3 separate regions of the Homo sapiens genome follow, and all the other regions are linked to region 2. The links are contacts of gene promoters, found by promoter capture Hi-C in blood cells and fetal thymus (Javierre and others, 2016). All regions are on one chromosome and are shown on one strand. The core of a region is centred on a gene start or on the middle of the fragment in contact, and the rest is flanking DNA. Distances in the headings are between cores, read along the strand shown.

Evidence for each region. The method cuts DNA at HindIII sites, captures the fragments that hold promoters and counts their contacts. A CHiCAGO score of 5 or more calls a contact.
Region 1: a fragment that was not itself captured here is called in contact with the fragment with the promoter of RFC3 in region 2 in 1 of 17 cell types (naive CD8 T cells); the score reaches 5.4 in naive CD8 T cells.
Region 3: a fragment that was not itself captured here is called in contact with the fragment with the promoter of RFC3 in region 2 in 1 of 17 cell types (total CD8 T cells); the score reaches 5.2 in total CD8 T cells.

What each region holds. Positions count from the first base shown.
Region 1 is chr13:31,159,296-31,161,995 of GRCh38, reverse strand. HSPH1 (heat shock protein family H (Hsp110) member 1) reads left to right here and starts at 92. Exons shown (of 18, transcript NM_006644.4): 1 at 92-520. The coding sequence starts at 414. RefSeq lists enhancers at 1-85, 216-295, 1-452, 453-998. The HindIII fragment of the contact is 798 bases long and covers 1,040-1,837 here.
Region 2 is chr13:33,816,804-33,819,503 of GRCh38, reverse strand. It overlaps RFC3 (replication factor C subunit 3), which reads right to left and starts at 1,355. Exons shown (of 9, transcript NM_002915.4): 1 at 1,239-1,355. The coding sequence starts at 1,325. The HindIII fragment of the contact is 2,489 bases long and covers 1-1,800 here.
Region 3 is chr13:31,196,026-31,198,725 of GRCh38, reverse strand. No RefSeq gene overlaps it. Among named protein-coding and RNA genes, the nearest start is that of B3GLCT, 2.6 kb to the left of the region's middle. The HindIII fragment of the contact is 2,308 bases long and covers 292-2,599 here.

The DNA of each region.
Region 1 (2,700 bases), core at 189-2,688, 2.7 Mb after region 2:
CGGTGGAGGCGCCGGTGAGTAAATGCCGCAGATTCTGGAAAGTTCTGATCAGTGCGATACATAAGGCTGAGGAAGTGGGACCTCCCCTTTTGGGTCGGTAGTTCAGCGCCGGCGCCGGTGTGCGAGCCGCGGCAGAGTGAGGCAGGCAACCCGAGGTGCGGAGCGACCTGCGGAGGCTGAGCCCCGCTTTCTCCCAGGGTTTCTTATCAGCCAGCCGCCGCTGTCCCCGGGGGAGTAGGAGGCTCCTGACAGGCCGCGGCTGTCTGTGTGTCCTTCTGAGTGTCAGAGGAACGGCCAGACCCCGCGGGCCGGAGCAGAACGCGGCCAGGGCAGAAAGCGGCGGCAGGAGAAGCAGGCAGGGGGCCGGAGGACGCAGACCGAGACCCGAGGCGGAGGCGGACCGCGAGCCGGCCATGTCGGTGGTGGGGTTGGACGTGGGCTCGCAGAGCTGCTACATCGCGGTAGCCCGGGCCGGGGGCATCGAGACCATCGCCAATGAGTTCAGCGACCGGTGCACCCCGTAAGTGGGAGTCTGCGAGGGTGGATGGGAGGAGGTTCTGGGCCCTTAGTGTGGGGACCCAAGATCGCGGGCTGGCTGTACGGATCACCGCGGCAAACGGAGGCGTTTGGGCAGCGGCGCACCCCTCCGTGGAACTAGGGACCAGCGACCCGGCCAGAGGAGGGATGGGGGGCTTGCCATCACAAATTGGAGAAGGGATTGTCTCAGGGATTCACGGGGGTGAGAGGAGTCCCAGAGTCGAGACTCTAAGGGTCGTCACCTTGTGCGGGCTTCCTATTGGGGGTTTTCAAAACCTACTGGGGGTCGGGCTGCGGCAAAGCCCGCAACTTCGCTCCCTTTTCTTGGCAGGCTGCAGCCTGCGCCTTCCGCGGCCGCCCCCGTATCCCCACCCGGCCTCTCTGAGCTGGCTGAGCCGCCTCCAGCTTGTCCTCCTCCCTTCGCGCATATCTTTGCGCACCGCGGAGCGGGGCTGCCGGCCTTTTTCTTCCGCATTGTGAATCTCGAAATGAACTGGAAGCTTCCAGAGCTTGTGTCGCTGCTTGTCCAGTGAGCAGGCGGATTGTTGTTAGCGACCACGGAAGCAGTCCTATGAAAGATTAGCCCACCTCTTTTTACCCAGTCTCTTCGTTGCTAACATTGTTGGCCTTAATGCCCGGGATCATTGTCGAAAGATGTAAACGTCTTTTTTTTTGCTCTTTGCCATTCATGAGGAATTGTAAACCGTATTTTTAAAATTAATTTTGCACAGTTTATTTAAAAGAGAATAAAAATTGCATACTTTTGTGCTAGGACGCCAAAAGAGGATGGATGTCGTCACTGAACTAAATATTCTATAGGAGCATAGGGTGGGCAAAGGGCAACATTTTAAAAAGCAAGTTTCGTGAAGGGATATTTTCGGACGAGAATATATACAAACATATCTGCATGTGCATTGATGAAAACAAATGATTTCATCTCAAGGAAAATACTGTACCTATTAATTTTTTTCAAATGTCCCAAGCTCAGGATGAAAAGTGCAAAATGAAAACATTGAACCTAAAGGTAGAATGAATGACTGGGGTAATACAATTATTTGGGTGCTGAGAACGTTTATGAAAGTTGAGTGGAAAATCTGAGGCAAAATATTTGGCAATGTTAGTAACGTTAGGAAGACTGTTCTGAGCAACCTGTACGTCTACCCCTGCAGATCTAAGTTTGTGTTTTGGTTAAGGTTTTTTTAATTGGAGTTTAGTAAGAAAGAAAACAGTATTTCAGGCTTTCATGCCTAGATACAGTTTATACTTTGTTCTGGTTGATCCAATAAAACAAAGAAAAGCTTTTCAGAGAAGAGAGTGGGAAAAAAAATTGTGTTATACAGGGACTACTGTGTGAAATCAAAGACAACAGGTATGGCCCTGAAAAATGTGAACTGAGGGCAGTATTGGAGTTCCCCTTAATATGTTTGTTAAACTATAATTGTGGTGGATTCTATTGTATCAGCTACTAATTGTTATTTAGTACAATTAATTTGATTCTCCCCTAGGAAAATGAGTAGATCCATTCTGCAAGTGTATGGTTATTCAGAGCTTACAGTGATGCTCTGATTTTGACGGTTTCTTGTCTAGCTTCTGCTTGGACACTTCTCTGGCTTTTAGGATGCTATTTTATTTAACACTTGCTCAGATAATATAGTTTGAGGATGTTTCTATTATAGCAAATTTAAACTTAAGGGTGGTACTTAATGCCCTCAGTATTTTCCCGTTTTGCTCATCTCGTTTACCATTACTCATACCTAAGCAGGTAGGAGTAACTCACCCAAAATTAGATTATATTTGAATTAGTAATCCAGAATTAGATAACTCCTCTAATCCAAAACCTAATTCACTTACCTTCTTCTCACAAGACTTTTTAAGCTAGTCTCTGCTCTGTTATTGTGCGGTTCCATTTCCATGGTGGCTGAGAAGGTTGTTTCACAGTTGTAAGTCACTTTCCATCTCTTCAAAACAGATTTGATGTAACTGATTAGTCACTCCTTTCCCTCGACATTTATATTCTGTTTTGCCATGGTACTTGTTGTGCATCATTTTTTTCTTTCTCCGGCAGAATCTCCCAGATGGGAACCTCTTTGTGCTCTTTAAACTTCAGAGGTGTAACTTGGGTTCATTTGCTTGCGTTTGCATAAAAACTTTTGATTCCTAAAG
Region 2 (2,700 bases), core at 106-2,605:
TATTATTTCTTATTTTTAAGACGCACTTAATTAAATAGTATCTGTAAATCTAAGAAAGGTCGGAAGGGAAAACCAGGGTATTGGGCAAAAACGTTTCCATCAGCATCATATATTAATTTGAGTTCCTTAAAAGGAGTGGATAAATGTCTTCCACAGACACTTTATTCTCCTAAAGATCCTTCTTTACTCTCTACTCCCTGGAAGATTCAGTTCGTTCTCACAAAATATTGCCATTGGGCACTTTTATCAACTACAACAGACAAAGAGGCATCAGGATAGAGGGGAGAGGATCTTTCACAAAGCTCTAATCTCAGCCACGCACGGTGGCCCACGCCTGTAATCCCAGCACTTTGGGAGGCCGAGGCAGGCGGATCACCTGAGGTCAGGAGTTCGAGACCAGCCTGGCCAACGTGGTGAAACCCCGTCTCTACTGAAAAATACAAAAATTAGCTGTGCGTGGTGGCGGGCGCCTGTAATCCCAGCTACTCGGGAGGCTGAGGCAGGAGAATCGCTTGAACCCGTGAGGCGGAGGTTGCAGTGAGCCGAGACCGCGCCATTGCATTCCAGCCTGGGCGACAACAGCTAAACTCCGTCTCAAAAAAAAAAAAAAAAAAAAAAAAAACTAATCTCAGGAACGTCCTAATACAATTTATTTGAGAATTAGAAACGATCTTTGGAGTAAATACATATTTACAACACTTTACTTGTAAATGACAATGACATCGAGAAATCTTAAGCCAGCTAGAAAGTAAATCACATGGTGTCATCTCCGCTCAAAATGCTCCAACGGCTTCTCGTCTTATTCTGAGACTGACTGGGTCTGCACTCCAACTCCATCCCAACACATACACCCATCTCCGATTACCCTTCCCGCTGGTTCACCACTATCGGCTACGCCGGCCTCCTGAGGTTCTTAGAACATGCCGTGCACATCCCTGCCCGGGAATTTTGCACTTGCTGTCCCCTCTTACCTGTTCCACTCTTTGCTCGGATTTCTGTATTTATGACTTTTCAATTTCCTTCAAGTCTCGGCTCAGATGCCACTTCTCAGTGGAGCTTTTCTTGTTTAAAAATACAAGCCAGCCTCCCACACCTCTTCCCCCTTCCCTGTGTTATTTTTCTCCATAGCACTTATCACCTTCCAATGCGGGCGGGAGAAGCACTGCTCCTCAGGGGGGCGCGAAACCCCGAGCCGGGGGGCCTCCCCTCTCCCACGCTCCCGGCCCCCGCAGACTCACCAGGTTCCGCAGCTGGGCCGCCTGCTCCTTGTGATAGTCCAGCCGTCCCAAGGAGCAGGGCCGATACTTGTCCACCCAGAGGCTCATGGCAGCTCGAGTTCCCGGGGGCCTACGCTTGAAAATCCCGCGCGAGCGCGCGTCCTCCCCACAACGCAGAGACAAGTTTTCCCGCGAGCTCCAAATCTCGTGACGTCACTACCGGTCGCGGCCGCGTAAATGATTTTGGACGGAAAGGCTACGGGGGCCGTGTGCAGACAAAATCAGCTGCCGCGTCGATGCCCTCTAGTTCTGAAGTTCACTGCTTTATTTATTTTCTCTTTGTTCGCACCGTCTATTATATTCTAGAAATTATCAAGCGGAATTGAAAATGTGGTTCTGACCCTTTTGGCGTCACATCCAGATACCTCAGAGAAGACCGTTCCTTTCATTTATTCATTCTTTCATTCACTTAATTCATTCAACAAAAATTTACTAAATATCTGCTAGGTGTGGAACTCTGTCCTCGGCACTAGAATATATACATCTCAGGGTTTCACTCACTTGGCAGGTACCCAGTAAAGCTTCATTGGATGAATCGCTTGAAAATGTCTGATCTTCACTATCCTTTGTTACCTCTATTCCTCAATATTCTTATTGGATTAGAAACAAAAGAATCAAGAGCATGGAAAAACTACCCAAATGTGGTCTGTAGGGGAGAAGACACGAGGTTAATATGCATTCTAAGTCTAGAATATTTGAAAGCCCTCCAATTAAAATGTGTAGAAGCATCTGAACCCCTCAGAAAAATATTCTGCATATGAAGTTGATATGCAACTTTTGAAGTTCTCTTCAAATAGTGCCTCTCAAAATGCACTTTACTCATTGTACATAATATTAATTCCTTATTTAATTTATGCTTTTATTTTATGTATTATTAAGAACCCTAAGTCCTGCCATTTGATTGCAAGGTCTTACAGGCAGGAAATGATTTCCAAATATACTTAATAACCTTTCACCAAGGTGCCTCTTACTCATTTATTAATCAATAATTTATCATGTTCTTCTATGAATCGTCATATTACATGAATTACTCCTGCAGGTAAGGTATTATCCACACCACCAAGTATAAGATTTAATCCCTGTTCTCGAGAAACTTTCTATAATAAGCCTGGAAGGCTTCTGCCTCAGGGCCTTTGCAATTACTGTTTCCTCTTCCTGGACTATGTTTCTCCAGTCAGCAGAGTTGGGTCCCTCATTTCCTTCAGGATGTTGGCTCAAGTATTATCTCCTCACTGAGGCTTCCCTGACCACCCTATTTAATATTGCAAAAAAGCTTCATCTTCTTTATGCTTCTCTCCTTTGGAATTGAAATGGAGGAAGTGTTTGAAATGAGAAGGTAAAGGAAATCAGAAGCAGGGATACTGAATTGTGGTCTATGTGTATATCATAATCATAATGAATGATAATGGAAATAAGTACTGAG
Region 3 (2,700 bases), core at 196-2,695, 2.6 Mb after region 2:
CTGCTGGGATTGTTTTGAAAAGGAGGCCTGGAGACAAAGAATTTTCTCTCTGTGTGGTTTATATTGACTTCTTAAAACTGGGAACTAAATATTTCACGTGTGATCCATTTAGTGTGAGTGCAAATAGTTCCCTTTTGTTCCATTCGCCCAAGGTTTATGGTCTCTTGTCAATACCATTTTGATGGGAGGAAAAAGAAATGTAGGGATCCTTCCATTTCATTTCTTAGTGAAGCATTTCAAATCTATGGTTGACTGAATTCATTGCTTTTATCCTTGGGAAATTCTCAAGCTTACCTGCCTAGTAGTTCTAGATTGTTTCCAATTTCCAAAGCTGTTTTCGCTTTTTTCCAAGAAAATATTCCTTGCATATGTGGGGTAGTAAACATTTAACCAAACTGTTTAATTAGACACAGAAGACTAATAAGCAGGGTCAAATGCCTACTCCACGTGGGTAAGCAACTCCTGGTGCTTAATCAATGTTTTCATGGAAATTCATCATGTTAGAGTATTACTATGTTCCAGAACAAGGTGTGGAAAATTAAGCCCTAAGGACAACAGAGAACACACCGTTTAAGTAATAAACTTGCCCTGGTGTCCTTCCTTTCCACAGTAGACATAGATAAATGGCACATTACAAAGCTCCATAACTCACATTTTAAAAAGAATTGCCTTTCACTTACTCTAGTCATATGATAAATGGACTTGCTGGGAGTTCTCTCTCCCAATCACATGTCAGGAGAGTTTCCTAGAGCAACGTACTGATGAGGATACTAACAGATACATGATAGGCACTGCTTGCCTATAACATTGACTGTAAAGGAACAACTCTAAGTAGAAAAAAAATAAATCCTATAAACTTTAAGATTGTGATATGAAAACAAGCAAGCCATCTTCTTGGGATTTACTCAATCCCAGCTGTCACCTCCATGCTGGCCCCTGAAACTTTCTTTGTTGAGGGACAGGGGAAGAAGCAAGGAGCCATCTTTTGTTGGGGAAGGCACTGTCGCAACCTGGTTAAAACAGACTGGTAATTTTACAGATAATTTTCTAAATACTAAAGGAGAACATAAAGACATACTAAAACCACTGAGAGCCAAATAATCTAATGAACAAGTTCCAAACAGATGGTTTCTGATCTTACAACAGTTATCCTTGAGGCCCAAAAGGCTGAACTCCATTCATTCAAATGATAGGGAGCACCTCTAGCTGATGTGCCCTTTGCTAAGCTCTGGGGCAGATATTAAAGAGCATAAAACATGGTCCTGGGCCCAAGAACTCACGGTCCAGTTTGGGAGACAAAAATGTTCATAACTAACTTTGCTACCTTCTTATAAATGCTATGGCATGCGTAGATCAGCACACTTTGGAACACACAGGGAAAAAAAAATCTCTCAGGGCCTTTGGAATCTGTAAGAAAAGAAGCGACTGTTGCACAGGATCTTAAAGGAGAAATAGCAGGTTCCTGAGCTGAGAAAGGAGGACAGGCGCCCCAGGCTGAGGCACAGCACGAATGTGCAAATCAACAGTAGTGTGGCGGGTGGGGAGAGGGGCTGCAAGGAGGAACAGCTTCTCACTGTGCCCCCTCCAGCCTGCTGCCTCTCTCCTGTGACTTGGAAGGGGCCTCCCAGGCACCCTGTTTCTATACTAGCAAAGCCCAAAGGGCATATTCCAACTCTTCCCACTCTCGGTGCCCTTTCACTCAGTGTCAGGCCTAAAGTGGATTAGCAGTCAACACAATTCAGGAGGACTATTCTCTTCCTGCATAAAACAGCAGGTTTATGAATTATGAGTGGTCTTGAGGATTATTTTCCAAACCTAAAATCAGGTCTTAAGGTTTAATAGTAAAATAGAATGTCTAAAACAGGGTCTCCGGGACTTAAGGTCATTATAATATCAGACCTATGCTACAGTACTTTAATCATCTGCTCACCATCCTCACACCCCACAATCAGTGCACACTAGGGGGTTACAGGAGAAAGACTCATCACTTGTACCTTACGCTTTAGCGTTTTGGGAAGGAAGATAATCTATGATCCCCGTGGAGAAGAGGGAGACAGGAAGAGAAGAGAGGGAGCAAAACTTTCATCACTCAGAGAGGACCCAGAGCCACAGCCCCACTGCATGTACTCAGGAAGAATCCTTTGATGACATACGGTGGTTTCTTTAATGCCCTCAGGGAGCTTGTCTCACATTGCTTCCAAAGCTATTCAAAAATTATAGGCAAGGCCAGGTGCAGTGGCTCACACCTGTAATCCCAGCATTTTGGGAGGCTGAGGCGGGTGGATCATTTGAGGTCAGGCATTCAAGATCAGCCTGGCCAATGTAGTGAAAGCCCATCTGTACTAAAAATATAAAAATTAGCTGGGCATGGTGGCGCACGCCTGTAATCCCAGCTAATCAGGAGGGGGAGGCAGGAGAATCGTTTGAACTGGGGAGGTAGAGGTTTCAGTGAGCCGAGATCACGCCACTGCACTCCAGCCTGGGCGACAGAGTGAGATTCTGTCTGGAAAAAAAAAAATATATATATATATATATATATTTAGGCAAAACCCATTCTGTCAAACCAAACTTTCAACCAAGATTTTTATTCAAAGAAGCTTAACAAAGGGATTCTCACAGCCTAACAACCCTGAACCAAAATCCAGGAAATATAACAGGTTACCATCTCAGCAGACCCCCCAGGAAAGCCCAGAAATCTGA